2 separate regions of the Homo sapiens genome follow, and region 2 is linked to region 1. The links are contacts of gene promoters, found by promoter capture Hi-C in human tissues and cell types (Jung and others, 2019). All regions are on one chromosome and are shown on one strand. The core of a region is centred on a gene start or on the middle of the fragment in contact, and the rest is flanking DNA. Distances in the headings are between cores, read along the strand shown.

Region 1 (6,212 bases), core at 3,255-5,754:
GTGTGATATTTGATTTGAGAGGATAAATGTGAGTTGTTAATGTATGAATATGGTCTGTGTGTATACAGGAGGCTCTTTGGCAGCTTTGAGGTGCCTGAGAAGGTGACCTTTGAAATCAGCTAATACGTGAAAGGATATATAAGGGTTGGTCAGACTTAGCAGAGGTGGGGAAGGGTGAGGGGATAAAGACAGGGTGGTCATTTGGAAGAAGACCTATCTATCTAGCTAGAGAGTAAAGAGGTACATTATGGCTGGAGCACAGAGTTCAAGTGGGGGTGGGGAGGCTGTAGAAGTGACAGGGATTTGAAATGGCCTTATTAAGTGTTTGGGCATTATTCTAGAAATGAGGTTTTTTAAAGCCAGAGAGCAGCATGACCCTCATTTATATAGTTAGAAAGAGTCTTCTGGCTGTGCTGTGGAAGATGCTTTGGCAGAAAAGAGCTGTAGGAAGACTACTTAAGAGTTCATTGAGTGATAGAGAGTAGAGATGATAGTGGATCTGAACAGGGTGGCTAAACAGAGGGATTTAAGAGACATTTAGCAAGGGAAGTCCTTGAAAATTATTGGATTGTGGGAGAGGGGTGCAGTAAGAGAAAGACATGGTCAAGGGTGATTGGAAGTTCTCTTCAATTCTCTGTTCCCCCTACCATTCATACATCATTGATTTTAGGCAAACATAGATTTAGAGTTATAATATTCATGGTCATAAAATAAATATATGTGGGCCTTATAGGATATTTATGTTCAATTGTAATATTTTCTGTAATCTCTATAGGAAGACCTTTATATTACAGAGAGTAGTTTATATGTTAAAGACACTCTATGTTAAAATATTAAACAGCATTCTTAGGTACATAATTTATAATAATGAAAATTTCACCTTTTTTTTTTGAGACAGAGTCTCTCGCTCTGTCGCCCAGGATGGAGTGCAGTGGCACGATCTTGGCTCACTGCAAGTTCCACCTCCTGGGTTCACGCCATTCTCCTGCCTCAGCCTCCTGAGTAGCTGGGACTACAGGCACCTGCCACCACGCCCTGCTAATCTTTTGTATTTTTAGTAGAAAAGGAGTTTCACCGTGTTAGCCAGGATGGTCTCGATCTCCTGACCTTGTGACCACCCGCCTCGGCCTCCCGAAGTGCTGGGATTATAGGCATGAGCCACCGCACCCAGCTGAAAAATTCACCTTATTTAATATTTCAGGGAGATGTAAATATATAACCACATTTTTCAATCACTTTATGCCATTAAAAGTCAGTTAATTAATGATGTATTTATTAGGCAGGAAAGGAATGTGAACTTTTAGTATAGAACTACCTACCCACCCATTGCCCAGCCATAAATGAAATAAAAATCTAGATATAAAATATAAAGTAATGAAAACATTTGTTAGGTATACAGATAGCTCCAAGTAGTTCCAGGAGTTATTAAGAGCCATTTGTGGTTCTCTGGAAGAGTCTGGGCCAATACTCAAATGCAGCAGTTATCACTTTGGGATTATGCTTCTTTGATAGGGAATCACCAGTGGCCACTTCACTCCTAAGTGCCATCTAGACAGTTATTTCCCTCCCTCTCCTCATCCATTCTTCCCTTTCTTTCTTCCTTGTTTAACAACAACAAAAAAAGTTAATCTGTGTGTTTTTTCTTTAGACATAGTCTCGCTCTTGTGCCCCAGACTAGAGTGCAATGGCGCGATCTTGGCTCACTGCAACCTCCACCTCCCAAGTTCAAGTGATTCTCCTGCCTCAGCCTCCCTAGTAGCTGGGATTACAGGCACCTGCCACCAAGCCTGGCTAATTTTGGTATTTTTAGTAGAGACAGGATTTCACCATGTTGGCCAGGCTGGTCTTGAACTCCTGACCTCAGTTGATCTGCCCGCCTTGGCCTCCCAAAGTGCTGGGATTACAGGCGTGAGCCACCGTGCGCAGCCCTAATCTGTTTCTTACCAGACCTCCCTTAAGTTCTGGGACTTGAGAAGTACTCTCAAGAGGTATTAAAGAAAACTGAAGCTGACACCTTTGTTTTTGTCTTGGCTCTACCAGAATCAGCTCTGTAATTATGAATTCACCACGTCTCAGGATCTTAGTTTCTACATCTATAAAATGAGAAAGCTGAAGTACATTATTGATAAGGGGACTCCCAGCTATGATTCCTTTATCCTGCCTTTTTTTTTCCCCTGGTCCTATATCCAGTTGCTTCCAGGCCTTTGTTTACTTGAGGGTCCCACTGGTACTTGAGATTTGTTATCAGAGCTACCCCCTCATGTTGTAGCTTCCGTCATTTGTCCTCTGCCCCCACTGGCAGTACCAAGGGACTAGACTAGGATAAGTAACTGGTAAGGAGCCCCAGGGGAGAAGGAGAGGCAGCACAGCAGCTGAAAGTCCCATGTTTTAATACTTACAATCTGCATACACATCACACAGGAAAGTTGCCATTTCACAACACTCCCTCTTACCATTACTTTTGTTATTATTCTTATTTTATTATTATTATTGAGACAGAGCCTTGCTCTGTCTCCCAGGCTAGAATGCAGTGGTGCGATCTCGGCTCACTGCAACTTCCACCTCCTAGGTTCAAGCGATTCTCCTGCCTCTGCCTCCTGAGTAGCTGGGACTACAGGCGCATGTCACCATGCCCGGCTGATTTTTGTTTTAGTAGAGATGGGGTTTCGCCATATTGGCCAGGCTGGTCTCAAACTCCTGACCTCATGATCCGCCCACCTCGGCCTCCAGAAGTGCTAGGATTACAGGCATGAGCCACCGTGCCAGGCCTATTATTATTTTTTTAACCAGACAAATGTTTGAGTTTTTAAACTTGTTTTTATTTTGTGTATGTGTGCATTTTTTTAAATTGGGGTGGGAGAGATGGAATGGTTGCTGAAGAAGGCAGAGGCGAAACCACAGAACACTTAACTGCAAACTATTGCTGCCTCTCCAGACACAAAGCACAGATTGCCTTATAAAAGTTGTAGTTCTCCCTCATCCCAAGTCCATTCTGGCAACCCCACCTCCACATTCATCCTCAGGTACTGCTGTATCACATGTTTGTGACCCCTTCCTTCATTGCTAACATATGTCATCCTAAAACCCGCCTTCAAGCTCGTTTCCTTCAGGAATACTGATTAACCGCACTTGTGATAGGTCACCAATCACATTTAAGCCCCCTGGACTCCACTGTTATTCTTTTAAAACATATTTAAAATAGTTTCAGACACAAAATAGGAACATACCAAGTCTTTTTTATATATTGTGGTATATATACAGTAATATCCTCCAATGCATATTTTAAACACACTAGAAGTAGTGTGATTTTTCACATACTGTTCTGTTTAGTCTCTGAAATGAAAGATATGAAGCATAAAGAGTAATCCTACTGCCATGAAGTCATTTGACCTCACTTGTTTTCTCTTACTCATTGTGATTGCTGCGACTTATGAAGTTGATCCCAGCTTGGACATTGGCATGTATGATTTTGGAAAATGGTTCTTTAAAGGACTATACGAATGTGGTCATTTAAAGCTGTTTCAGAAAATGTATTGCTCCTGCTGTGATATTAGAAATGGCAATTTTTAAACATGTCAAAGTTTGATTATAAAATGGATAGTTTAAAAAGCTGCCTTGGTCTACTGCTTGATGCATTTTAAATTTGAAATGGATCTTTGAACACTTGTATGGCTGCTGGACTAGCGGTTGTTAAGTTTGTTGGTTTGCCACTTAGAGTCATCTATCACTTTAGTAAGAAGTTAACGCCTATCAGTTGGAGAAAAAGCAAATATTTTGCATTGACAGTCTCCCCTACCCTCTATTATTGTCATTTTCTTAAGCCATCACTGCTCTGGCTTCTAGAATACACATTTTTGAATGAAGGTTTTTGCAGTGAATGGTCTCTTGTAGATCTCAAAGTCCACTAGAAAGAGTACTGGGTTTTTGTTTGTTTTGAACGTTGCAAACAGTAATGCTTCTTTACCACTCACCCTCCCCCCACCCTCAACCTCCACAACGTTCCCGTTTGCTTATAGTTGTCAACGACCATGATCTCTGGACCCACACTACAGTAACAAGTTTGTCAGTCATTTTCAGATAAGGTGCAAATCAAGGGATGGCTTTGTCCCCACTTCGGCGCAGGTGGGACAGACTTGGGGAAGACGCAGCTGAAGAGACAAATTCTCAGGGTGCGTCAGTCTCATCACTGACCGTTGCTTTTAAACCCTCCAGGGAAAATATGCCAGTCATTGTTATGATGTAAACAACCGAAGGGGTGGACGGTGAGGATAAGAAGAACCGAGATAATATTTGGCCAGAGCTACGTGTAGCACAGGGAGCCAGGGCGGCAGCTGCACCTGCGAGCAGCGCAGGCGGCAGGCGCGGCCTCCGGGCGTGGTGGTGGGCGTGGCCGGGCGGCGGGGGCGTGGCCGGGCGGCGGGGCGGGCGGTGCCGCCGGTTGGAAGTGGGTGGAGTTGCCCTTGGAGGCGGCACCGGACCTGGGCCCCGAGGCCCGCCGCGCCCTGTCGGGCCTGAGCCGAGTGGCCCCACAGAGCCGGCGCGCTCCCGCCTGCAGGGGGAGAGCAGACGGGGCGCGGGGACCGGCCAGGCCGCGGCGGGTGCTGTTTCTGTTTCACTTTCCTTCACTCTGAGGCCGGCGCGCTGGCGGGCGAGGAGCGGCGGCGGTGGCGGCCGCTGGGTAGGTACCGGGCGGGCTGGGGAGCTGCAGGGACGCCAGACTCCTCACCCAAGTTTGCGCCTCAGGCGAGAGCGACACCTCCAGACACCTGCCCTGGCCGGCCCAGCCTGGAGCCGGGAGGGCCCTTCGGGTGCAGGGGGCTACCGACCCGGGCGGGGGCTTCGGAGCTGTGCCTACCTCGGCGGGGAGAGCGGCCGGCTGCGGACGCCGGCCCCGGGAAAGGCTGCTCGCTCTCCCCGGCCTGAGCAGCGCGCCCGCGGGGCCTGGGCCCGCGCACCTGCCGGGCGGGCGCGGCTGTGCTGGGACCCCACAGGGCTGTACCGCTGGGTCCTGCCGGAGAACGCAGAAAAGTTCCCCCTTGCCCCCGCCCCGTCATTGCAAGTTCTTGCTTCCCTTAACTGTCTTGGTCACAGGGCTCTGTGCCTTAGGATCTTAGTACCACCCCAGGTCGGGACCGTGCATTTCCTCTTCCAGAGGACTTTCTCTTACTTTGGAGTTTCATGGCAAACCTGTGGGAAAGGCAAGGCAGTTAATCCCAACTTATAGAGGAGGAAGCCGAGACCCAGGCTCAGATATGAAACGGTTTGCTGAAGGTCATACAGGGGTAAGGGCCAGAACCCTGATTCCCTGTCTTTTAATTATGCTTGCTTTCTGTTACACGCACGAATACGGTTTCCCAAGAGGATAGGATGATTACACGTAGAGCCTATTCCCTGCACATTCGCAGTGGGTATGTGTTGATGGAATGCCTTTTACCTTTCCGGTTGCTTTATATTTACCAATGAGTTAACAGCTAAGATGGGGGAAAGTTCCTGTTTATAGAATGCACTTAGGAAAATCAACACCTTTCATGTTGTGTTTTCTGAGAGGATACATATTTTACAGTTAAAAAAAAAAAAAAACCTGAGACAGGAAAGTAGCATTATCCAGGTTATATATCTACTAAATATGACCAGTTTCTATTGAAGAGTTTTTGGTCTAACAAAGAAGGTAAAGAATGAACGTAACTATAAATCAAAATAAAAGGCAAATGTAATAGGAAAGAAGTAAGCATTAAAAACTAGGGAAAGATTGCACTGAGAATAGCATTGGAGAAGGGCTTGAAGGATAGGTGGCATGCAGACAGAGGAGAGAAAGGGCGTGTTGGATAGAGTGCTTAGAACCTGCAGAGGAGACGGTGGGAGAGGAGTGATCCCTTCAGGTTGAAGAAAGTTGTTGAAGGGTATATTAAGGTTAACCTGTAGAAGGTCTTATGTGACAGAATGGGAAACATTTTTCTGTTTGTAAAGAGAAGACACTGACATTCGTTGATAAGAAGACCCAACCAAGTGTCACAAAATAAAATGTGCCTCGTAGCAGAATATAAGATGGACTGCAGGTGGAGAGGTGATATACAAGTAGAGCAGCCGGGCATGGAATAGCAGAGGATATCAACTTGGTTTGACTCGTAACTGGATGAAGGGTTAAAAATGGAAATGGGGAACATTTTGATAGGGAGGATAATTACTTAAGTTTTTAATCTTTTAACTTGTAT
Region 2 (6,818 bases), core at 3,160-5,659, 38 kb before region 1:
TTTTTTTTTTTTGAGATAGGGTCTTGCTCTGTTGCCCAGGCTGGAGTGCAGTGGTGTGATTATAGCTCACAGCAGCCTTGACTTCCCAGGCTCAAGCAATACCCCCATCACAGCCTCCAAAGTAGCTGGAACCACAAGTGCAATTCACCACACCCGGCTAATTTTTAAAATTTTTGTAGAGACAGGGTTTCACCATGTTGTCCAGGCTGGTCTCAAACCCCTGGGCCAGCCAGTCCTCCCACCTCGGCCTCCCAAAGTGCTGGGATTACAGGTGTGAGCCCCTGCACCTGGCCTGCTGTTTCTCATTTTAAACGTAGTAGTACACTTTGAGTTTAAACATAATTTTCATGGGTTACTTTGATTAAAAATAGTAAAAAAAAAAATGTAATGATGATGAGTAGTTTGGAAAATGATTTACTTGTGTCCAGAGCCATTCCTTTCAATGGCAAAAACTGCAATTACTTTTGCACCAACGTAATACATGAAGCATTATTATTTGGAAGTTAGATTCATCCTCTACAACTGATTTCAGCACTCACTCTATCTCAACATCTTTTGGGGGAGCTTTTAGAAAATTCAAATGACTCTCCTATCTCAAGATTCTGACTTACTTGACTTTGGGTAAGCCCTAGGGAATTAGTAATTTTTAAAAGCTTGCTAGCTGCTTCTGATAAGGAGCTAGGGCTAATTCCTCTAGCCCAGGTAGATTAAACATCTTTGCTTGCTTCCTAAACATCTTTTGTATTATTCCCATCCTGTCCTCTCTCATTACTTTGGTTTCAAGTCATGTACTCTCTATCCTCAGATCTGAACTAGTGTGGTCTCTTTTAAGTCAGAGGAATAGGAGGAAAGCAAGGGAGAGACATGGGAGAGGTGAGTTAGATTACCCATGAATAATCAGAGTGGCTGTCAGGGAGCCAATATTTGTTTCTTTTTTAAAAAAAAATTAATCTTTTAAAAATTTATTTTAACTTTAGGGGTACAAGTGCAAGTTTGTTACATCAGTAAACTTGTGTCGTGGGGTTTGTTGTACAGATTATTTCACCATCCAGGAATTAAGCCTAGTACCCATTAGTTGTTTCTCCTGATCCTCTCTCTACTTCTACCCTCCACCCTCCAAAAGGACCCAGTGTGTGTTGTTTCCCTCTGTGTGTCCATATGTTCTCATCATTTAGCTCCCACTTAAAAGTGACAACATGTGGCGTTTGGTATTCTGTTCCTGTGTTAGTTTGCTAAGGATAATGGCCTCCAGCTCCAACCATGTCCCCACAAAGGACATGATCTTGTTCTTTCTTATGGCTGCATAGTATTCCATGGTGTGTATGTACCACTTTTTGTTTATCCAGTCTGTCATTGATGGGCATTTAGTTTGATTCCATGTCTTTGCTACTGTGAATAGTGCTGTGATAAACATATGCATGCATGTGTCTTTTTTGTAGAATTATTTATATTCCTTTGGGTATATACCCAGTAATGGGATTGCTGGGTCGAATGGTATTTCTATCTTTAGGTATTTGAGGAATCGCCATACTGTTTTCCATGGTGGCTGAACTAATTTACACCCCTACCAATAATATATAACATTTCTTTTTTTCCACAAACTCACCAGCACCTATTTTTTTTTACTTTTTAATAATAGCCATTCTGACTGGTGTGAGATGGTATCTCATTGTGGTTTTGATTTACATTTCTCTAATGATCAGTGATGTTGAGCTTTTTTTCATTACATTATTGGCGGCATGTATGTCTTCTTTTGAAATTTGTCTGTTCATGTTCTTTGCCCACTTTTTAATGGAGTGGTTTGTTTCTTTTCTTGTAAATTTAAGTTCCTTATAGATGCTGGATATTAGACATTTGTCAGATGCATAGGTTGCAAAAATTTTCTCCCATTCTGTAGGTTGTCTGTTTATTCTGCTGGTAGTTTCTTTTGCTGTACAGAAGCTCTTTAGTTTAATTAGATCCCACTTGTCAACTTTTGCTTTTGTTGCAGTTATTTTGGTGTCTTCATTATGAAATCTTTGCCCATGCCTATGCCCTGAATGATAGGTTGTCTTCCAGGGTTTTTATATTTTTTTGTTTTACATTTAAGCCTTTAACCCATCTTGAGTTAATTTTTGTATATTGTGTAAGGAAGGGGTCCAGTTTCAATCTTCTGCATATGGTTAGCCAGTTATCACAGCACCATTTATTTATGCTATTTATGAATAGGGAATCCTTTCCCCATTGCTTATTTTTGTCAGATTTGTCAAAGATTGGATAGTTGTAGGTGTGTGGTCTTATTTCTGGGTTCTCTATTATGTTCCATTGGTCTATGTGTCTGTTCTTATACCAGTACCATGCTGTTTTGGTTACTGTAGCCCTGTAGTATAGTTTGAAGTTGGGTAGCATGATGCCTCCAGCTTTGTTCTTTTTGCTTAGGATTGCCTTGGCTATTCAGGCTCTTTTTTGGTTCCATGTGAATTTTAAAATAGTTTCTTCTAGTTCTGTGAAGAATGTCAATGGTAGTTTAATAGAAATAGCATTGAATCTATAAATTGCTTTGGGCAGTATGGCCATTTTCACAATATTGATTCTTCCTATCTATGAGCATGGAATGTTTTTCAATTTGTGTCATCTCTGATTTTTTTAAGCAGTGGTTTGTTGTTCTCCTTGTAGAGATCTTTCACCTCCCTAGTTAGCTGTATTTTTAGCTATTTTATTATTTTTATGGCAATTGTGCATGGGAGTTCATTTGTGATTTGGCTCTTGGCCTGACCCTTGTTGGTATATAGGAATTTGATTTTAGGCTAGTGATTTTTGCATATTGATTTTGTATTCTGAGGTTTGCTGAAGTTATTTGTCAGCTTGAGAAGCTTTGGGGCTGAAACAATGGGGTTTTCTAGATATAGGATCCTGTCATCTAAAAACAGGGATAGTTTGACTTCCTCTTTTCCTATTTGAATGCACTTTATTTCTTTCGGTTGTCTAATTGCCCTGGCCGGAACTTTGAATACTATGTTGAATAGGAGTAGCCAGACAGGGCATCCTTGTCTTGTGCCAGTTTTCAAGGGGAATGCTTCCATCTTTTGCTCATTCAGTATGATGTTGGCTGTGGGTTTGTCATATATCACTTTTATTATTATTTTGAGGTATGTTCCTTCAATACCTAGTTTATGGAGAGTTTTAAACATGAATGGATGTTGAATTTTATTGAAAGCCTTTTCTGCATCTATTGAGTTAATTGTGGTTTTTGTCTTTAGTTTGTGTTTAGTTCTGTTTATGTGATAAATTACACTTACTGATTTGTGTATGTTGAACCAACCTTGCATCCCGGGGATGAAGACCACTTGATGGTGGCAGATAAGCTTTCTGATGTGCTGCTGGATTTGGTTTGCCAATATTTTGTTGAGGATTTTTGCATCAATGTTCATCAGGGATACTGGCCTGAATTCCTTTTCTGTTGTATTTCTGCTGGGTTTTGGTAGCAGAATGATGCTGGCCTCATAGAATGAATTAGGGAGGAGTCTCTCCTTTTCAGTTTTTTGGAATATTTCCAGTAGGAATGGTAGCAGCTCTTCTTTGTACAATTTCAGAACTCATTATTGGTCTGTTCAGGAATTCAGTTTCTTCCTAGTTCAGTCTTTGGAGGGTGTATGTGTCCAGAAATTTATCAATTTTTTCTAGATTTTCTAGTTTATAAGCATAAAGGTGTTTATAATATTCGCTGATGGTTGTTTGTATTTCTGTGAGGTCAGCGGTAATGTCCCCCTTATCATTTCTGATTGTGTTTGTTTGACCTTTTCAATTTTTTGGAATAGTTCCCGTAGGAATGGTCGCAGCTCTTCTTTGTACAATTTCAGAACTCGTTATTGGTTTGTTCAGGGATTCAGTTTCTTCCTGGTTCAGTCTTCGGAGGGTGTATGGGTCCAGGAATTTATCAATTTCTTCTAGATTTTTTAGTTTATAAGCATAGAGGTGTTTATAATATTCTCTGATGGTTGTTTGTATTTCTGTGAGGTCAGTGGTAGTGCCCTCCTTATCATTTCTGATTGTGTTTGTTTGAATCTTCTTTATTAGTTTAGCTAGTTGTCTATATATTTTATTATTTTTTTCAAAAGCAAGCTCCTGGATTCATTGATCTTTTCAATGGTTTTTCATGTCACGATCTCCTTTAGTTCAGCTCTGATTTTTGTTATTTCTTGTCTTCTAGCTTTGGGATTTGTTCCCTCTTGGTTCTCCAGTTCTTTTAGTTGTGATGTTAAGTTGTTAACCTGAGATCTTTCTAACTTTTTGATATGGGCATTTAGTGCTATAAATTTCCCTCTTAACACTGCCTTAGCAGTGTCCTGGAGACTCTGTTACATTGTATCTTTGCTTTCATTAGTTTCAAAGAACTTGATTTCTGCCTTAATTTCATTATTTGAGATTCTGGTACATTGTATCTTTGCTGTCATTAGTTTCAAGTAACTTCTTGATTTCTGACTTAATTTCATTATTTACTCCAAAGTAATTCAGGAGCAGGTTATTCAATTTCCATGCAATTGTATGGTTTTGAGTGAATTTCTTAGTCTTGAGTTCTAATTTGATTGTGCTGTGGTCCAAGAGACTGTTTGTTACTATTTCAGTTCTTTTGCTTTTGCTGAAGAGTGTTTTACTTCCGATTATATGATCAATTTTAAGAGTACATGTTTTGTGGCAATGAGAAGAATGTATATTCTGTGATCCAGTGTTGTGTATATATTTGATCCAGTGCTGAGTTCAGGTCCTGAGTATCTTTGTTAATTTTCTGTCTCAATGATCTAATATTGTCAGTGGGGTGTTAAAGTCTCCCACTATTATTGTGTGGGAGTCTTAAGTTTCTATTAGGGTCTCTAAGAACTTGCTTTATGAATCTGGGTGTTCCTGTGTTGGGTATATATATATTTAGAATAGTTAGATCTTGTTGAATTGAACCCTTTACCATTATGTAATGCCCTTTGTCTTTTTTAATCTTTGTTGTTTTAAAGTCTGTTTTGGCAGAAATTGAGATTGCAACCTCTGCTTTTTTTTTTTCCTCCATCCTTTTATTTTGAGTCTATGTGTGTCTCTCCATGTGAGGTAGGTCTCTTGAATATAGCACATCGATGAATTTTGACTCTTTCTCCAGCTTGCCATTCTGTGTCTTTTAATTGGGGCATTTAGCCCATTTGCATTTAAGGTTAGTATTGATATGTGAGGATCTGATCCTGTCATCATGATGTTAGCTGATTATTTTGCAGACATGTTTATGTAGTTCCCGTATAGTGTCACTGGTCTGTGTACTTCAGTGTGTTTCTGTAGTGGCTGGTAATAGTCCTTCTTTGCCATATGTAGTGTGTCCTTCAGGAGTCTTGTAAGGCAGGTCTGGTGGTAATGAATTCCCTTAGCATTTGCTTGTCTGAAAGAATCTATTTCTCCTTTGCTTGAAGCTTAGTTTGGCTGGATATGAAATTCTGGGTTGGAATTTCTTTTCTTTAAGAATGTTGAATATTGGCCCCCAATCTCTTCTGGCTTGTAGGGTTTCTGCTGAGAGGTCCATTATTAGTCTGATTGTCTTCCCTTTGAAAGTGACCTGGCCTTTCTTTCTCACTGTCTTTAATATTTTTTCTTCGTTTCGACCTTGGATAATCTGATGATTATGTGTCTTGGGGATGTTCTTCTCATGGAGTATCTTACTGGGGTTCTCTGCATTTCCTGAATTTGAAGGTTGGCCTGTCTAGCTAGGTTGGGTACATTCTCATGGATGATATCCTAAAATATGTTTTCCAAATTGGTTCCATTCTCCTCATCTCTTTCAGGTATACCAGTCAGTGGTAGATTCAGTCTCTACATAATCCCATATTTCTTGGAGGTTTTGTTCATTTCTTTTCATTCTTTTTTTCTCTATTCTTCTCTGCCTGTCTTATTTCAGAAACACAGTCTTTAAGCTCTGAGATTCCTCTACGTGGTCTATTCTGATATTAATACTTTTTATTCCGTTATGAAATCCTTGTAGTGTGTTTTTTGTCTCTGTCAGGTTGGTTACAGTACTCTCTACTGGCTGTTTTGTCTGTCAGCTCCTGCAATGTTTTAGCGTGATTTTTAGCTTCCTTGCTTGGGTTATAATGTACTCCTTTAGCTCAGAAAGTTTGGTTTTATCCATATTCTGAATTCTACTTCTGTCATTTCAGCCATGTTGTCCTCAGCCCAGTTCTGAACACTTGCTGGAGAGGTGATACAGTCATTTGGAGGAAAGAGGGCACTCTGGCTTTTTGAGTTTTCAGTGTTCTTGTGTTGATTCTTTCTCATCTTTGTGGGCTTATCTACCTTCAGTATTTGAGGTTGCTGTTTTGTTTTTTTTTTCCTATTTTTAAAATCTGGCTACTTTTCTGTAGTGCTGCTATGGTTTGCTAGGGGTCTGCTCCAGTCCCTAGTGGCCTTGGATTTTTCAGTATCTGGAGGTATCACCAGTGAAGGCTACAAAGCAACAAAGATGGCAGTGTACCCCTTCCTGTGGGAGTCCCATCCCAGGGAGTTATGGACCTGTTGCCAGCCTGAATGCAGCGGTAGGAGGTAGCTGGAGACCCCAGTTGTGAGGTCTCACCCAGTCAGGAGGAACAACACAGGGGACCTGCTTACAGAAGCAGTTTGGCCACATTTTTTAGAACAGCTGTACTGTGCTAGGGGTACCCCCTCTGCCCCCAGTTGGCTTGGGCTCTCCAAGCATGAAGCTGGAACAGCTAAGTCACCCAGACAGCAAAGATGGTGGCCCACCCCTCCTTCTGGGAACTCTCTCCCAGGAGGTTCTTAAATCTCTGTCAGCCAGAAAACACCAGTGGGGT

The links. Contacts are between HindIII fragments. The study calls those that stand out against the background at their distance.
Region 2: a fragment that was not itself captured here is called in contact with the fragment with the promoter of PCGF5 in region 1 in 1 of the 25 tissues and cell types used here (hippocampus).

Annotation. Positions count from the first base shown.
Region 1 is chr10:91,216,159-91,222,370 of GRCh38, forward strand. PCGF5 (polycomb group ring finger 5) reads left to right here and starts at 4,505. Exons shown (of 10, transcript NM_032373.5): 1 at 4,505-4,678. RefSeq lists an enhancer at 4,045-4,114 and silencers at 4,305-4,614, 4,685-5,144, 4,834-5,128. The HindIII fragment of the contact is 13,387 bases long and covers 1-6,212 here.
Region 2 is chr10:91,178,396-91,185,213 of GRCh38, forward strand. LOC124902480 (a long non-coding RNA gene) reads right to left here. Exons shown (of 3, transcript XR_007062240.1): 3 at 873-6,818. It also overlaps a transcript of PCGF5 not described here. Among named protein-coding and RNA genes, the nearest start is that of PCGF5, 39 kb to the right of the region's middle. The HindIII fragment of the contact is 5,314 bases long and covers 1,753-6,818 here.